Linked DNA regions of Homo sapiens: region 2 is linked to region 1. Evidence: promoter capture Hi-C in 16 types of primary human blood cells and fetal thymus (Javierre and others, 2016). All regions are on one chromosome and are shown on one strand. The core of a region is centred on a gene start or on the middle of the fragment in contact, and the rest is flanking DNA. Distances in the headings are between cores, read along the strand shown. Region 1 holds the start of PABPC4-AS1 (PABPC4 antisense RNA 1). Region 2 overlaps MACF1 (microtubule actin crosslinking factor 1).

What was found. The method cuts DNA at HindIII sites, captures the fragments that hold promoters and counts their contacts. A CHiCAGO score of 5 or more calls a contact.
Region 2: a fragment that was not itself captured here is called in contact with the fragment with the promoter of PABPC4-AS1 in region 1 in 1 of 17 cell types (M2 macrophages); the score reaches 5.2 in M2 macrophages.

Annotation. Positions count from the first base shown.
Region 1 is chr1:39,563,802-39,566,501 of GRCh38, forward strand. PABPC4-AS1 (PABPC4 antisense RNA 1) reads left to right here and starts at 1,269. Exons shown (of 4, transcript NR_125979.1): 1 at 1,269-1,418. It overlaps PABPC4 (poly(A) binding protein cytoplasmic 4), which reads right to left. Exons shown (of 16, transcript NM_001135653.2): 8 at 1,305-1,577; 9 at 885-972; 10 at 622-741; 11 at 35-121. The HindIII fragment of the contact is 13,463 bases long and covers 1-2,700 here.
Region 2 is chr1:39,318,008-39,320,908 of GRCh38, forward strand. MACF1 (microtubule actin crosslinking factor 1) reads left to right here. Exons shown (of 101, transcript NM_001394062.1): 30 at 446-608; 31 at 1,657-1,740. Among named protein-coding and RNA genes, the nearest start is that of MACF1, 110 kb to the left of the region's middle. The HindIII fragment of the contact is 1,438 bases long and covers 693-2,130 here.

The DNA.
Region 1 (2,700 bases), core at 19-2,518:
CATCTTTCCCCCTTCTGTGTGCATCCAATACCACCTCCAGACTGGCAGCTGTCAGTCAGCCCTTGCTGGGCGGCACCAGCCCCACCAAAGTCCATAGCCAAGCGGTCCGGGCACTCAGACCCTACAACAGACCAGCAAATGCACATCAGTGTTGGCGGCAGATGTCCAACTGGCCACGTCCCACGGAAGGAGAAATTTCAAAGCACGTTTACGCAACACATTGCACAGGGGGCCACTACTACTTTCGAGGATGAGCCAAAGGATAACATACAACTCTTTCCACATCTTGGAATACAAGACATATTCTGTATACACTGTTTCCTTGTATTCCTCACCCCACCCAAAAGAACAAGCTGCCTCTGTGGTCATCCAGCTAGCAAACTTCTACAACTAACCTTTTTCACATAGGTCACCGATGAGCAAAGAATGTTAAAAGCAACTGACACACCTAGAACTCATACTGTTTCTCTGCTCCTGAAGTGGCCACCTAAGCACACAGCTAAGATTACAGAACCAGGACTCGATAAATTCGAGCCCAACAAACTGACCAACCCAGGACAGAGCCTAGTCATCCTGACTCCCTCCTCCCCAGGCCACACTTCTAAAGGCCAGTTTGCTCACCGACTCTCTGAGTGGTAGTAGGGAGGCCACGAGAGGCCGGAGCATTACCAGTTGGAGCCAGATGGCGAAGAGTTGGACGAGGCCCAGACTGGCGTATAGCACTTGGCATTCCTTGGAAGCCTGGTGAAGAGAAAAATTGCACATCATTGAGAAGTGATGTGGACCAGAACCTAGGCTGTGCCTCAGAGTGGGGAAGAAGGAAAGGCAGGGGAGACCAGGACAGGTATATCCTGGGCTGTCAATTACTGTTCCCCACCACCTACCTTGAGGTCTCCCACCTTGCTGCCAGCGTGGATTAGGCCTCATCTGTGCTAACTGGTTAGGTGTATAATATGGAGGCCTTCCCTGAGCCTGTAAGACAGAAGAATACCCAAACACCCCCTTAAGGACTGAACCCATCCTAGAGAAGTATCTCATCTCATCTCACTAACCAGGACCTAAGCTAATTATTTAAATGTTCTTTCTATTCAAGAGCTGAGGGGTCAGCTAATGGGGACTGTTTTATGCTACCACTGCCACTGTGGGTGTGTGTTTGTGACCATGGGTAAGTCCTTCATTTTTACTTGAAGGGTCCTTATTGTGACATTCTAGAACTCTAATAACGAAAAATCCCTCTCCCCAACCACTGCAGAATACTGCCAGCCGGCAGGTTCCCAAGAGCTGTGACCAAACAGCACACCCACCTGTGGGACTGCTGGCACAAAGTAGCCACCCGCTGCAGGCTGGAACTGATTTAAGATGGCATTGGCAGGAAGTGCTCTCATTCCAGCCACTCGTTGCATATACTGGTTGGTCAGGTGAGCCTTTCTCTCTTCCTTCCTCTGGGCCAGGGCAACATATAGTGGCTTGGAGCCCACAATGCGTCCATTCATCTCAGTGACTGCTTTGGTTGCTTCTTCAGGAGATGAGAAGCAGACGAAGCCAAACCCTTTGCTTCTTCCATCCTCCAGCATTACCTACAAAATGAGACCAGCTACTTAAGAAATAAGGTGTCCCTGGCTGGGTGTGATGGCTTGTGCCTGTAATCCCAGCACTTTGGAAGGCTGAGGTGGGAGGGCTGCTTGAGCTCAGGAGGTTGAGACCAGCTTGAGCAATGTAGTGAGACCTCATCTCAAAAAAACAAAGGGCCAGGCGCAGTGGCTCATGCCTGTAATCCCAGCACTTTGGGAGGCCGAGGTGGGTGGATCACGAGGTCAGGAATTCAAGACCATCCTGACCAACATGGTGCAACCCCGTCTCTACTAAAAATACAAAAATCAGCTGGGCGTGGTGGCACACACCTGTAATCCTAGCTACTCAGGAGGCTGAGGCAGGAGAACCGCTTCAACCCGGGAGACAGAGATTGCAGTGAGCCGAGATCGCGCCACTGCACTCCAGCCTGGGCGACAGAGCGAGACTCCATCTCCAAAACAAAACAAAACAAAACAAAACAAAACAAAACAAAAACACCAACCAACCAAACCAACAAAAAAAACAAAACAAACCTACAAATAGGAAAAAAAAGGATGTCCCTGGGTGGGGAGGGAACTATTCAGAAGAACCAGAAAGCCTGGGTTCTGCTGCAGTCACTGAGTCTAGGTCAGGGTTCTGGCACAGGATTTACCCCAGACCAACTAAGTCACAACCTCTAAGGTATCTAGGTGTTTTCTTTGAGTCCCCAGGTGATGCTAAAGTTCTGAAACACTATGATATGGCTAATAATAAAACCAGGAACTCAAAGATGTTTCCTGATACCTGGTGGATAGCTACTCCGGGTAACCACAAAACATCTTGAGAGTAGTACTGAGCAATTTATTTTCATATCTCATATGCTTCAAGACCTCGGTGGACAAACTCTAACAAGCTCTTACCAACGTCAGGATAACACTTTTGGAATACCACGTGTGGACAGGAGTCCTAAAATGTTCAGGTAACCAATGACTGCCACCATTAATTCAATGAGATGACCAGCTCAGAGATAGGCAGCCTAGATTCTAGTCTCACTTGCCTTCCTGAGGCTCAATTTCCAAGAAATACTCCAAACAGCTACAAAACCACAGGTCTACTGGTTCAGGCAGTCTTTTCCCACATTAAGTTCAT
Region 2 (2,901 bases), core at 162-2,661, 250 kb before region 1:
GTAGCAGGAAATAATGACTATTTTTCACTTCTCTCCCCTCTCTCCTTGAGAAATTATAGTGATTCATAAATCATAGCTGTGCTGTACTGACAGGTACTCTGTCATCAGGGAATAGAACTGTACAGCCAATACTACCTTATTGGTCACCCTGGTAATTCTTGGCAACCTAGGTGAAAAATTTGACAAGGATTATTGTGGGATGCTAGACCACAAGGCAGCATCCAGGGCTAGCAGGTCACAACTGGTTTCTACTCACTTTTTTGACCATAGGGCACTGGTACATGCATAGGTCTCACTCAGCCTTGCATCGCTGTTCCCCGTAGATAAAGATGGATCGTTTGTGGTCAAGCCCAGCTGGATACATGGGTTAAAGAGGGAATTACCTCATTTACTTTATTGTATTTGTACCAAGGTATCTGATAGCAGTTTCCCTTTGTTCTTCTAGCCAATCTGAGCTAGAAAGTATCCAGGAAGTTCTGGGAGATTACCGAGCCTGCCATGGAACTCTCATCAAGTGGATTGAGGAAACCACTGCCCAGCAGGAAATGATGAAGCCAGGCCAGGCAGAGGATAGCAGAGTGCTTTCGGAGCAGCTCAGCCAGCAGACGGTGAGTGTGGTAGTAGCTCTGGCGAGAAGAGTTAGAAATTTAAATTTTCTTTATCATAAAAGAAAATGATGTACTGGCAATTAAAGCTTCCTCCAAATGGAAGATATCCAAATTCCCTTTTCTTTGAGTGGTTTGAGCAGGATCGTCCCAAGATACTGGTTTTGCATTTAGACTAGAGAACCTGTAAGGTACCTTCAGTTCTGAGTTTCTGTAACTGTATTGAAACCACTAGATGGACAGATTAAAATTATCTTTATTTTGTTTTTTTTTATATTACATTTTATTTTACTAGGATTAGATATGGGGTTTTGAAAACCAAGGGAAAATTGTAAGTAGAAGAAAATGATTCTTTTTTTTTTGAAAATGATTTATTTTAAGCATTTTTTTTTTGTTGGTATTTTGTTTTGTTTTGTTTTGTTTAGCATTATGGTTAAGAGTATGAGATCTGGAGTTGTATTGCCTGGATTCCAATTCTGGCTCACTTACCTACTATAAGCCTTTGAAGAAGTTATTTAGCTTCTCAGTGTTCTACTTCCTTATCAGTAAAATGGACATAGTTTGTTATTTATTTAACCTACCTTATGAGATTATCGTTGCTAGGATTAACTGAAGTGATACATGTAAAATACTTAGAATAGTGGTTCTCAAAGTGTGGACCCCAGACTAGCAGCATCCGTATCACCTGGGGACATGTTAGGAATGCAAGTTCTTGGGTTGGGCACAGTGGCTTCTGCCTGTAATTGCAGCACTTTGGGAGGCCGAGGCATGGGGATCACTTGAGGATAGGAATTTGAGACCAGCCTGGTTAAGAAAGCGAGAACTTGTTTCTACAAAAGATTAAAAAGACAAAAAAGTGCAAATTTGTGAACCCAAACCCACTGAACCAGAAACTCTGGAGGTGAGGCCCAGCAGTATGTGTTTTAACCACCCTTTCCAGCAATTCTGATGCAGCTAAGGTTTGGAAACTACTGCCTTAGAACATAGTAAATGTTCAGCTCTTTCAATGGTGGTAATGGCAATGATAATGTTGTGATATTTTGCTTCCTAGGCCCTATTTGCAGAAATTGAGAGAAATCAGACAAAACTGGATCAATGTCAAAAATTTTCCCAGCAGTACTCTACTATTGTAAAGGTAACTTTACCACATCCCAAAAAGAACATGAATCATCACCAGCTCAGGAAAACCTACATCTTCACTGTAGGTTCTGTTTCTAGACAAATTAAGCAGAGTTCTTATGCTACAAGCTGGCCTGATCCTTCAGTTAAGCAGATGTGTATTTCCTGCAACCCCATGTTTGGGGTTGCTTGGAGAAGTAGCAGACGTTGGCTGTGATTTGAGGAGTCTCCATTTGCGTGACCGTAGGCCCTTTAAACTTAACATGGCAAAAACAGAATGTTTGAGTTTTCTTCTTAAATATGCTTCTTACTTGTCTTTCCTATCTCAGGAAATAGTATGGCCATTTTTTTCTAATTGCTGAGGCAAAAAACCCAGGAGTCATCCTAAACTGTTCTCTTTGCCTTAAGCTTTATATTCTCCGTTGGCTCTTGTCTTCAAACATGTCCCACATCTGACTGCCTGCCGTTATCTCCCCTCTATTTCCCTAGTTCACATTCCAGTGAAGAATCTTCTTTAGACTACTACAGTACCCTCTGAGCTGGTCTCTTGCTTCTGCTCTGGCCCCCACAGGCTATTTTCCCACAGAGTAGCCAAAATCCCCTTTTTAGAACATATTGCATGTCACTGAATCTTAGACTCCATTGATTACAAGCTACACCATAATTTTCTGCATGCCAAAAAGAGGAAAAAAGAAGAAACTCTGCCAGTTATGTGACATGCCATTGATTCTAAAATATGTTCCAATTTGAAAGACTAAAATGTGGAGAAAATGTGTACCTTAGAATAGATGAAATACAGCAAATAAGATCATGTCACTCTCCTGCTCAAAACTGTCCAATGGCTTCATATCATAGTCGTAATAAAATTCTAAATTCTTACATGGTTTATAAGGCCGTGAATGATTTAGCTCTCCCCTATTTCTCTTAGAATATCTTTAAGGAAAAATGACTTGAGGCCAGGTGTGGTGGCTTATACCTGTAATCCCTGCACTTTAGGAGGCCAAGGCAAGAGGGTTACTTGATCCCAGAAGTTTGAGACCAGCCTGGGCAACATATCAAGATCCCATCTGTAAAAAAAAAAATTTTAAATTAGCTGGATGTAGTGGTGTGCACCTGTAGTCCCAGCTCCTCAAGAGGCTGAGGTAGGAGGCTCACTTGAGCCTGGGACATTGAGGCT